Regions from separate parts of the Homo sapiens genome. Here region 2 is linked to region 1. Evidence: promoter capture Hi-C in 16 types of primary human blood cells and fetal thymus (Javierre and others, 2016). All regions are on one chromosome and are shown on one strand. Each heading gives the region's core, a stretch centred on a gene start or on the middle of the fragment in contact. The rest is flanking DNA. Distances are from core to core; before and after follow the strand shown.

Region 1 (6,460 bases), core at 2,111-4,610:
CAGAAGTGACAGAGCCGAGTTTCAAACCCAGGCAACCTGAGAGATGACTCGAGTTCAAGTTCTGTAGCCAGGCTACTTGGATTAACATTGTTTTGAGAAAAATTATGTTATTAATAAATGGGAAACTTTTAGAACAGATCCTAAAATTTAGTATTATTTGAAGTTTTCTGTTAAACGATGCATTTTTCATTTAATTAATGGTAATTTTGGACAACAAATATTTTCAGTCTCCCAGGTTTGTGTGCCTAACGGCAGACTTAAAACTGTTTCCTCATCTGCTCAAGCACACCATACACAGAAATGCTAACAGTTGTTCTCCATGTGGTGATTATTACTGACTTATTTACTTACAATAATTGTAACTTTTTTGTAGTCTTTAGACGAACAATATACATGCCATTTTTAAAAAAATTTTTTTGGAGAAAGGGTTTTGCTCTCTCACCCAGGCTGGAGTGCAGTGGCGTGGTCACAGCTCACTGCAACCTAGACCTCCTGGGCTCAAGCAATCCTCCTGCCTCAACCTCCTGAGTAGCTGAGACTACAGGCGCTCAGAACCATGCCAGGCTAATTTTTTGGTAGAGACACTTAACTGCTATGTTGCCCAGGATGATCCTGAACTCTCGGGCTCAAGCAATCCTCCTGCCTCAGCCTCGCAAAGTGCTGGGATTACAGGTGTGAGCCACCACGCCCAGCCTGCAGGCCATTATTTTTTATTTAAACAACACATTAAAGAAATCTAGCCTGAATGGCGACTTCTATGCTAATTTTTAATCTCTAAGGAATTAGTGAATATTTGAAGAACCTTTTTCAATCCACTCACAAACCAATCTTAACAGTTTCCTTCTATCTTTAATCAAAATCCGAATACATGCTAATATATTAAACCTGATGATTCCCTCTCTAAAAACCCTGCTATATTTCATTTAGCTACCTCATATAAGAAATACGTCTTTCACACTGGACAGAGTGGCTTATACCGGTAAATCCCAACACTTTGGGGGTGAGGCAGGAGGACTCTGAGACCAGCCTGGGCAACACAGTGAGACCCTGTCTCTATATTAAAAACAAAAGAAAGAAATATGCCTTTCCCATAAAATGAGCTTATAATACGCTCTTCATAATGAATTCCCTAACATGTCCACGAGATCTTAGTTCTTAAGGCAATGAAACTACCTCCTTGCCTTAACTAAACACCAGCTTTTTAGAGTCCTTATCTTTTACCATTACATACTGAAATATTTACAGATTTATTGACGTAATATCTGAGTTGCTTCCAAATAACAAGGTATAAATAAAAATGCCCCCTCCTCCACAAACATACCAGATTTAGGGGTGTAATCCTGGCTATACCAATTTCCGTCTGGGCAAACTCTTTAATTTCCAAGTTTCTATTCCCATAATATCTAACTTGCATAGCTGATGTGACAATTAAATAAAACAATACATGTAAACAATCTCTAATATACATAGTAGGGATTGAAATTGCCAATAATGTGCTCCTTTGATAAGAAAATGATAAAATATCAATAGAACATCATATATACTGAAAATGCACCAATACATCTTCAGATATTACACACAATCAAAACATTTTCCATTTGTCTTTTTATTTAAGAAAACAAGAAATTACTTATCAAGGACAATATGCTCCAAATTTCTACGGCACTTCCAAAATTTTAGGGAAAATATCAGACTCCCATTAAAAAAAAAAATCAAACAAGATTCTGATTTCACTTTGACTTTTAAGGTTTAAAGCTACTTAATTGTGGCTACTCCCCCTAAGGATCTCAAACAGGAAATAACTAAAGTTAATGGTAAATATACACTTAGCATAACACTAAGGTTAAAAATTACGTGCATTCATTTGTATTCACTGCTTACTGAAACTTCTGTTTTGCAAAACAAGAATTTTGCATAATATACATTTGTAATCTTTTGAAAATAACTGTTATTCATTCTATAGTTAAAATCCTTCTAAGGGTTCTTTGATCAAAAAATTGACTGGGCACTTATTTTGTGCCAGGCACTGTTCCATTTACTTTGTTTATACAAATGCTGAGTTATCACTTCCATTTTACTTTAGGAATAAAGTTTATGAGCAGTCTTGAGTATTCCCAGAGGTGTACAAGTGTTTTTTTCTTATTATGTGAAAGGCAACTGATTGAACGCTTTGATTCCATTTAAGCAAGACAAAAACCAAGTATGTGAACTATGACGTTCAGAACTTAACAAGTTTGAAAGTCTCAGAGGTAAGCAGCTTCCAGGGAAGATAACGCCAGAGCAAGTTCCATGGTCTCTACCCAGTGAAGGAGTTCAGCGGTCCTGTTATCTTGAATTTATTTAACGCTGTAGTTCACTACCTTCCAAACAGAAAACAAGTCTCTAGACAGCCTATTTTGACGAGCCTCCCACCCACCGACACTACTCATCTTTGGAAGTTGAAGATAGGCGGAGCTCCCCACATTGACACCTGCAGTAGGCCCAGGTTCCTGCTTGGAGAGCACCTGAGTAGCTAATAGCCAACTACAGATCGCCTGGATAAGCAGCACTCGCCAGGTCCCTTGGCCTTTCCAACCTCCTCCCCCGAACCTGCCTTGCTTTGACCGAGACCCCCAGGACTGCCAGGACGGAGACCAGGCGGAACCGCGGCCTCCAGTACACTTTCCACGGCGCCATCTTGAGAAGGGAAAGGGTGACACCCGTCGCTCCCTCAGTCAGTCCCCAAATCCCGGTCTCCAGAGCCCCTGGAGGATGAGTCACCAGGGCTGGCAGAACAAGACGCCGGGTTCGATAGTTCTCTGGTCCAGGGCACTGCTGCGCGTGAGGGAGAAGGGGTGGGGGGTCTCAGTACCGGCAGGGCCGCGGACAGGCTGGGGACCGCGGATAACCTGGGGTCCAGGCCCCCGCTGCGCAGGAGGAGGGGCGGTTCGGTTACCTGAGACCGCAGCAAGCCGAGCTGCGGGGCCGAAGCTTCCTGGCAGCAAGGCCCAGGCGTGGCCCGTAGGATGAGAGTGTATCTATGGCGGTGGTGGTGGCGGCGGCGGCGTCGCCTGCTCTTAGCGCCGCTCCCCTCACACTGGACTGTGCGGGGCTCGTGCCGTGGTGCCGCCCCTGTCGGGCTCCGTCTCCGCCTCTCGCCGCTCCCCCTTCCTCTTTCCTTTCTCCTCCTCCGCCGCCGCCGCCGCCGCCGGCGCTGGAGTTCCGACTAATTCTTCCTCCTCCTCCTCCCTCTGCCTCCTCCCCTAAGGCCAGCCGCCGGCTCCTTCACGAACCAAAACACAAACACTCAAGTCCCACCGCCGGAGCCACTTCCGCTGCCCGGTGCCGGCCCCGCCGCCACGTCGCTGCACGCAGCGAACTGCGCCACTTCGTCACTTCCCATCATCGCCAGTCCGCCTGCTCCTTCCGCTTCCTCGCCCCTTCCCGAATCCCTCCCCGCCTAGGTTTGTTCGCGGGGCGGGGCGAGGCAGGATGTCACGTGACCCTGCGAGTGGCTCAGATCCGAACTGGCCGCCTTTCTCCCCTTCCCCCACCCCAGGTACGCGCGGCCACGCCCTCTCCAGCGCCATTGTTATTTAGGCTGGGGGGTCTCTGGGCTCCTGGCGGCCGGGGTCGGGGGAAATTCCTTTACTATTCTTTGGGGGAAGATCAAAATAACTTGTGTTTTTTTGTTTGTTTTTTGTGCCCAGCCCTTGTGGGAGCGGCGAGGTTCCCTAACCCCAATCCTGGCATCTCGGCTAAGGGGCTTTATTAGAGGGAACTTGTCTAGCACGAGAGAACCTCCTCCCACAAAATGGCCCTGGGGTTGGGTAGGTCGGTAAAGGCTGCTAAATCGCATTTACCCCAAGGAGGAAGAAAGGACCCTCCCTATCCCAAAAGCCGCCTTTAGGCGCCTGACAATAAGAAGTCGCTTCTGTTAAGAGTTTACGTGGTTTTGGTAGGGGGCGGGGAAGGCCAAATCCTAAAATAGTGTCTGCCTTTTATTCAGAATTTCCCTTCGCTCTTTACTGTACTAAACGCTTTACAGGAATTATCCCATTGAATTCTTACACTCGAGTCTTTCATTCTGAAACTAACTTGTTAATCGTCTGTTCCCTACATTCGAATTTTAGCTCCCCTTGGTGGTCCTCACCGCTGTAAATCTATGTCTAGCCCAGTGCCTGGCAGCCAAGTCTTCAGTTCTAGTTGTAGATGTTTTATAGGTAAAGAATTTGAGACACAAGAGATTGAGTAACTTGTCCGAGATCACGGCTGTGTGGTGCAGAAGCTGGATTCTGATCTGCGGCGGGTTGGCTCCAGAACGTGAGTTGTTGAACACAATTCTGGTGAAAGACAACCCAAGATGTTCGTTACCCTCCACGGGGGACCTACTGAAGATGTGCTGCTTTAGTTGAATCCCACACCACATTCAGTCTCTGGCGAGGCTTCAGCCACCACCCCCTCCCCAGCCTCCGCCAAAAAAATTGTTTTGATAATTTAGTGGAAGAATATTAAATTGATTTTCCTTCAGAATAAAGGCTACTTTTCAGTTTGCAGTTTACAATGTATAGCTCTGTTGTAAGGGCGAGAATATTGTCTTTGAAGTGTACCGGGTTAAGGTATCTTATGGGCGTACAGTCGGCGGCATTGTGCAATTAAGATGATTTGAACTTTGAACAGCCCGTCTTTCAGATCAACTACCTAGTTGCCAGAAGAACGTAATGTGTCATACGTAAATGATACCTGTGGCATTTTATTCTCAAGGAGTTGTTCAATATGAACTATTAATCATGGTAATAGCTCTGGGACAATCCCAGGAGGAGTCAGGAAATAGGATATGTGACATCAGTTTTGTCATGTCAACAGTATGCCCAAAACGAAACCTATTCCACTCCAAACCTGCTTCTGCTTAGAGACTGGCATTAACATCCTCCCAGTCACCCAGACTTGGAACTGCAGAATCAGCTTCACCTCTTTCTTCTCCTCACAAACCATTGTCCATTCTATCAACAAATTATCTAATCCCCAAATTTGAAGTCTAATCCCAACACCTGGTCCATGGTAGTGTTTATATAAACTGAAATTAATGCATACTGCTGTTCTTTCTGTCCATTCTTTACATTTTAGCCACTCTACTAAAAAATGTTCAATGCTATGTCATTACTTGACAGTCTAAAGTTCTTTAACTCTAGTCCCAACCCAAGTTTCTTTCATTCTATTTCTATAGAATTCCTCTCCCCATACTCTTTATTTGTTCCCTGATCACACGTATCTGGTCTGTGTTCCCTGAATATTGCCTGTGTGTTGCCATCTTGGTATCTGATCACTTTATTTTCTCCACATGGAACACTATCATTGCCCATAACTGCTGGCTCCGTCTTAGCCAGGACACCAGTTCCTTTGGACCGCATCTGCAGATACTTCTACTGGATTCAATTATTATTTTTTCTGTAATTTCACAATACTTTGCCTTACTCTGTATAATGGCTGTCTTAAAATCTGCCTTATTTTAATAGCTAATGAGCACCTGGACTTTTCTCCTTAGCCTTTCATTGAATTATAAGGTTTTTAAGGGCTGTGACCATCAGTTATTCATCATTTCAGTTCTTCACAGAAGACCCTTGACTGCTATAATAGGGACCCCCAAAGTATTGGTGAACTTAATTACATTTAGAATCACGAACATTAAGAAGACCTCACAATGAAAAACATTTGATGCTGAAATTTATAAATTGCAAAAAACTCCCTATTTCATCGTTCCAGTATGTTGCTTCTTCACTCGTTCCTGTTTAGTGATTTTGTCTTCACCTCCTTCATGAATACTTTTCACAATATTTTACAGTTTAGTCATAATGTTTGCCTGGAAGAGTGCTGCCCTGGTGGCTGGCATTTCTAAAGATCCGGTAGTAGTTTTAGAGAAATTGAAATGACACAGTAAAGCTCTGTTGTTTTATTGCCACTTGCAATATGCCTATGTTTTCTTTTTCATAGCCCCAGATAACTGAGGAGGACTGATAATTGTATATATTTTAGTGTCAAATGTGGAGTCCTACCAGTTGATAGAACTTGTTAAGGAAGGTACAAAATGGATAAATAATCATGAAGACTTAAACACTGTCTTTGATGCTTATACTGCCCTCAAATCTCTAAATACTCAATAACAAATTCCCAGTGGCAGGTGTCTCTCTACCATTCACAGGATCCCATAACCTTTTCCTTCTCTTCCAGGAAATCTGTCCTCCCTTGTGTAGCTAAAGAATGAATCTTTGCATAGATGATAATGAATGGTTACATTTACTTTTAACTGGAACTGTCTGGAGACAATTCAAAATTTTTCCTGGAGACAAACCAACGGTAACTCTAACATTGGCGTAGTAGCAAGTCAGTGAATAAAAGGCTGTGAAAACTTAAGCTAGTCATGTTTCAAAAGCTTGTGTCTTTGGAGGGCATCATTCAGGCTTCAGCTCAAATGTCATCTACC
Region 2 (6,460 bases), core at 1,759-4,258, 1.6 Mb before region 1:
CTTTTTAACAGAGGCTTCACGGTGAAATAATGGCCTCTGAATGGCCCCTTGGGATAGCTCCTGCCAACGACCAGCTTATTCATAATAGGGGAAGCTAGTGAGGTTTCCCCAAGCTGACATTTTAAATATAAGACCACTGGTTTTCGAAATCTACAGAGAAAATATTCCTCTGTGATTCATGGATATACCTCTAATAAATCACTTTCTAGAACACAGAGACTGTTACACCTCAATTGTTTTCCAGTCCATGTGAATGGCAATGGTAAGGAAACGTTCATATCATCACCAATGATAGTGTCTTAACTGAAAGAGGATCTTCTGGATATGACTGATGAAAACAGAAAATAAACAGTGAATGAATAGAATAGATTACGACAACCTTATTACACAATGTAACATCCTTATTACACAATGGACACATATCAGCTCTTCCAAGGACTGGGGATGCTGCAAGTGAATCTGTAAGGGATAATGATATTCTTAGTTCCTGTGGCATTTTGTATTTTCTTCAGGTATTATTGTAGATGCATCATGCTGCCCTCCCTAAGAGCCCTGTGTTTTCCCTCAGCCTGAATACATGTCTCATCTTTGTATGCTGGCAACTGGTCTGGCATGGGATAAATGCTGAGTAAAATGTCTGTTGAATGACTGAGACTTATTTCACTCCTTTGGTTTGGTTCTCTGATATAGCCAAGTTTGTGCCACCACATACTAAAGAGGAAAAAAAAAGACAGGCTTGTCATATTCACTTCTTTGTTATCCAGAGCAAGAGCTGGATTGTGCCATTTTATTAATTTAGATTTAAACCTTTTAGGGAAAGCTTTGGTCTTTTCTCTAATAATCGAAGACTACCTGCTTTATTTTGAGGGCTGAAAGAGAATGAGTGGTAATGAAGCAGGTAAGTGTAATTTCTGCTCCCGGATATTGGGTCACAGGTGGGGATCCCCAAAGCAGCATCTGGCATAGAGAAGTGCAGAAAAATCCTGAAGCCTTTTGATGCAAAGAAGGCAGTAGGTAGGGAGAACAAAGAGATGAGTTTGATGTAAAGGGTTAAAGTGACGTTTTTCCTTGCTCCAAATTTTTTCTACTTTTAGACTTTTTAAATCAACAATTCATCTTTGGGTTATCTTGACTTTTTTAAAATATGAAAATATGTGTTTCATTAAGGATGCACATCATTTAAAAATATATATATGTGTGGTAGGTAGAGCTGCTAACTTGAGTTAAGAAAAGCCCCCCGGAGCTTGCTGTGAGCCGAGATTGTGCCACTGCACTCCAGCCTGGGCGATAGAGCGAGACTCCATCTCAAAAAAGAAAAAGAAAAAAAAAAAAAGCCCCCAGGTGTGTTGTCTCTGTTAAGTAAATGGGTTGTGACTAGATACTTTCATCTCTTAACTTAGAGACTAGAATACGTCAACCTAGAATAATCCAAAGGGTCAGAATCTAGTTTAAAGAGAGTTTATCCAAGTGTTAAGTTGGAGAATGGCTGCCCAGAAAACACAGATTCCAAAGAATGGAAGTCAGTATTCCAAAGTGTAGAAGTTTAGTATCATTTTTATAGACAAAGTTTAGGGAAGTTTAACAGAATTTCAACACCTCTTTCTATATAAGGCTTAATGCTTAGTTACAGTAATCTGACATTGGTTGGGGTGGTCTTATTCTTTTGGGAAAGGTATATTTAACATTTTATACTGAGGATTTAATACTCATGGGGTCTTTTGCACCATCTAGTCTTAGGTACAGGACAATAAAGGATGTAGTTAATATATAACAAATATCAGTAATTGGAAGGGGGAGGCAGTCTGGTGTCTGGTCTCTCCTAGTCATTTACAGAACAAGAAAATGAGGAAGAGAATTAACCCCAAAGAAGCAGAAATTGCAAACATGTTATGTGACTCAGACACCAGTGCTTAACACCCCCACCCCACCCCTTGGCATAATAAATTTAGAGGGTCCTTAAATTTTATTTTCTTTTACAACTTTGAAGGGTGGCAGTCTTCCAGGATCTGTCCTTTCAGAAGTTGAGTGGTAACAAACTTTGGATTTGTCTTTTGAAGATAACATAAACATGCCAGAACTTACCTAACAGTGGAAATGGTGTTGAGATGATGAAGCACCCTTCCAAGCTGGAGCTAGAGAAAATTTCAAAAGGGCAGAAGAGATAGTAAAGTCTGTAAAGTTGGTGCAGATATTCTAAAGCCAAAAGAAGGAAGCGATGGACATTAGGAAAGACATTGCTTTCCTAATCCATGAGGACCTATATCAGGAAAAAACAAAACAAAACAAAAAAACAAACAAAAAAGCAAGTTATATAGGTTGAGAGGCTAAGAGTTCCAGCACACTCATCAGATATTTTGAGCCAAATTCTCTTTAAACTGAATTTACACAAAACTCTCTATGAGAAAAGACACCCATTTCGTAGACCCTTATTCTATTTGTATTGCAGTATAAACCTGAGGCATCTAGGCTAACAAATTTGAGTTTTCTTAAAGCAATTACATGTTCTTTTTATTACTATGTGCTTCCTCATACTGATTAGCACAACTCTGAAAACAAAATGAGTCTGAGCCTGGCACAGTGGCATGTGGCTATAGACTCGCCTACTTGGAAGGCTGAGGCACAAACAATTCCTTGCATCTGGGACTTTGAGACTGGACTGGGCAAAATAAGTGAGACCTCATCTCAAAACAAAAGGACTCTGAGCTAATTTTGTAGAATAGTTAAATACTTGGCAGAAGGAGAAGAAGAGGTAGATAAGACTCTAGAATCAAAGATCATGCATTTTTTAATAATAAAAAGAAAATTTCTGGTAATGCACAAGAATCTTTTGTGATTTGTAGGCTTGTCCATATATAAAAGATAGAGACACATGAAATCACATTTTAGTAATTTATCAAATCATTTTAATTAAAAAATCTATATGAAAAGAGTAATCCAATTATATATATATTTTAAAAACCCAAACTAATTCCTTTGAAAAATGTTAAACATGTCATACTTTGGTAAATGAGAACCCCTGGAGAGGGTTGGGGCAACAATAGTGAAAAGGGGAAGAAATGGTATGGCCTTTAATTAGAAAATTGATTTGGCGGTTTTCTCTAAAATGTAAGAAATAGAAAGAATACTCACAGAAACTAAATTTTCATTGTAAACCTAGTTGACTGATATAAAGACAATTTTGATTGATAATTCCTCTTAAATTTTCAAGTCATATATTATTTATTAGTATAAATAATAAGGTTTTATCTGCTGCCTTGGGGTAACACATACATCTAAACCATGGGGTTAGCTCCTATTCACTAACTTTATGATCTTGGGTTTTTGTGTTGCCTTTTTCTCTAATTATGCCAGTCTGCTAGAGTGCTGAGCAGAAAATTGTATTCAGTGATCAGCCACTGACTATTCATAGAAAGAATGCCTAGTTCATCTATCTCAAGGCAAAAACACACTTCCTAACGTTAAAGAACAATTTTAGTTCTTGTGATCTAATGAAGAGTGTTAGGTTGGTGAATTTACTTGTATAAAAGTTTACAGGTAAAAGTAATATTTTTAAAAAATATATTGAGCACTCTAAATTGCTGATAAGAGTGGTTACTATTTGTCACAGAATATTTCATAGAGCATTTCCAAAGATAGCCAGAATAATTGTCTAATCTAGCAAGTGTTTTTAAATACCAAGTTTTTTATTTAGAAAAATTAATGGCAAAATTTTAAAAATTATACTCAAAGTAACTAGGCAAGTGTAACTAACTTGTGTTGTTTGTTCTTCTATGAAATGACAAATTCAGATTTGTCTGAATAAGTTCTGTACAAGGTCATTCCCTGATCTTTCTTTACTTTTGATTCTTAGGGAATCTCATTCACATTGTTTATCAGTTAGGTTAGGCTAGGTTATATTGCAGTAATAAACAACCTCTAAAATCCTAGTGGCTTTTGCAATATCTAATTATTTCTTACTCATACTACATATCAGCTGTGGTTTTTCTTTCATCTTAATTTAACTCCAGGACTAGGCTGACGAAGCAACCACTAGCTGGAGAATTCTATGGAAGAGGGGAAAAGGCTCTTAGAGCTTTTTAGTGGACTGACACGTAATATTTCTCTCACTTTTCACTGGTAAGTTACATGGCCAAGCCTGATTACAATGGGGCAGGCAAGAATAATTCTCCTCTAGAGAAGCAAAACAGATATTAGTCAGCAATTATATAACATTCTATTGTTAACTTCAATCACTAGACCTACAAATTTGGAGAGAAGAGCTTTATTTCTTATAGTTACAGCCTGCAGGGTGGCCATCCTGACAGTCTGGGAAGCACAGCCTCCATCAGAGTCTGAGAATAGGTACTTCGAGGGAGGAGAGATAAAACAGGAATTTATGCTGAAACGGTTGGCCAAGTATACATATTCAATGAGATATAGGAGGAGCTATGAATATTGACAAAGGGGGGATGTATGCATGCATACTAAGGAAACATTCATGTTACATATGACCCATGTTCATTTTGGGGTGGAGACTTTAAATAAATTACAATTAGGTCCTTTGAGTCAAAAGCTGAAACAGGGACATGAAGGCACTTACATATGCAGCCTCTGTAAACTGGCCAGAACCAGTCCATGGCCAGTGTTCTCTTATTAAGAGAAAGTTACTGAAGTCGATTTCTTGTCCAGTCAAGGCTGTAGTTATGGCTTGTGAAAAGTTGGGGAGTGTTAGGCAATGTCTGGTGGTCAGTGAGCTGCAATTGTTTCAATATTGCTTATCTTGAGTCCAGTGCTTGTTTAGCTGCTAGAGAAAAGAAAAATGTTGTGATAGTTAGAACAGTTAGAACATAGTTTACTCTCTACGTGTAGGGGTGTGTGCCTTAAACTTTGTCAGGCATGGCCTTAGTTGTTATTTAGAATTTTGTATCTTATTGCCACAAAGAGTCTGTTCCTTCAATCTTATGGTCTCTATTTGAACACTATCATGGCTTCCTTCAAGTATCACTTGTGCTTAGATGTCTTAAGATTCTCTTGCCCTGTCCTTCTCCTAAGTCCAGATCTGCTTTTCCATGGCCCATTGCTCACTTACTTGGATGGCTTTCAAGCATCAATACTTAACAGATTCAAAAAACAAACAAACAAATGAAAAAAACCAGTCCTCATCCTGACCATCATCGTTTATTTTGAGTTCTGCACTTCCCAGATTTGAAAGCTTTCTAGTTGTCTTTTCCTCTCCTAAGTTCTCACTTCTATTCAATTGCTAGAGTCCACTTCCCTCCCATTCCTGGAATGGTTCATGCTTTTACATGTTGTTACTACCCACATCCTGGCCTTGTAGATCTATGTTTTTCACATACATTTGCCCTAGCCTCTATGCAGGTCTAACTGCCTCCACACCTGTGTCTTGACAACCATGTTCTTCATTTTACTCTCCAGTTATACTCTACAGTACATAAACCACATCTCTTACCCATTCAGAAATCTTTAATGTACCTCTGTGCTGGACCCCAGGATCACAACCTACCTTTCCAATCTTCTCTTCCACGGCTTTCCTGCAATATTTTCCACTAGAGGCACACCTTGTTTTTCCATTGTTGTTTCTTGTACTGTAGTTCTAAAACACGGAAAATTCTTTCACTTTTCTTCCTCCTGCCTATAAAGCTCCATAAAACCAATTCCTTTCTAGTTGCCCTATCATATTCTTGCTAAAGGGAAGTTTTCTGCCTTTACCTTCTCTCATTGCTAGAGGGCATGCCTCTTGAGAGTACTCCCTTGATTAATTATTTTGCTTATGTTTTTATTTACAGAGTACTTTTTATATAAAAGATAGTAAGTCAAGAGTTTTAAAACTTGGAACAATCAGTTTTGTGTTTCTGTTCTTGGATTGAAGCATGGTAAAGCTTTAGACTTTTGTATTTGTGTATAGGTGGTTTCACGAAAGAACAGCGGTTCTCATTAAAACAGGGGATTCTGTGATATTGCTCATCAAATTTCAGAGTTGCAAGTTTTATTAAAGGTCATCAAGTCTAACCCCTAAAGGAGATTGTTGTTGTTGTTGTTTTTGGTTTTTGAGATTCTCTAGTCCTACAAGTAAAGAACACTTGACATTTCTAATGGCCCTTCAGTGACTATCAATCAGGAGTTAATTAGCCTATTGAGTATATGGATTTTCCTTAGTCATCTAATTGGTAAAGTCTGAGAACATTTCTCCCTGGTTCTATTACATAATTCTCTTTATCACGTCTCACTGAATTGCAAATGTATTCATCAGATAAAGCTACTAATTACAATTTAAATTTGCACTTTTCACTCATGACTCAGTCTTCTTTGTATCCAGTTTCCCTTTTTCTCTTTTAATTTTGAAATTGTAAACCAGGGATGTTGTACTCATCAGACTTAAAGGTACCAAAAGTAAAATACTTTTGAATGTATTGCTAAGAAGGTCTATGAATGCAAAGGAACTTTTATTTGCTCTTGATTC

Evidence for each region. Contacts are between HindIII fragments. The CHiCAGO score rates a contact against its expected background, and 5 or more counts as called.
Region 2: a fragment that was not itself captured here is called in contact with the fragment with the promoter of RAB5A in region 1 in 1 of 17 cell types (monocytes); the score reaches 7.5 in monocytes.

Annotation. Positions count from the first base shown.
Region 1 is chr3:19,943,997-19,950,456 of GRCh38, reverse strand. It overlaps RAB5A (RAB5A, member RAS oncogene family), which reads right to left and starts at 3,360. Exons shown (of 6, transcript NM_004162.5): 1 at 2,936-3,360. It also overlaps a transcript of EFHB not described here. RefSeq lists enhancers at 2,076-2,675, 2,722-2,771, 3,292-3,341, 3,203-3,372, 3,298-3,467 and 1 more. The HindIII fragment of the contact is 3,439 bases long and covers 2,973-6,411 here.
Region 2 is chr3:21,503,843-21,510,302 of GRCh38, reverse strand. The region is part of intron 4 of ZNF385D (zinc finger protein 385D); the gene reads left to right. Among named protein-coding and RNA genes, the nearest start is that of ZNF385D-AS1, 36 kb to the left of the region's middle. The HindIII fragment of the contact is 4,371 bases long and covers 823-5,193 here.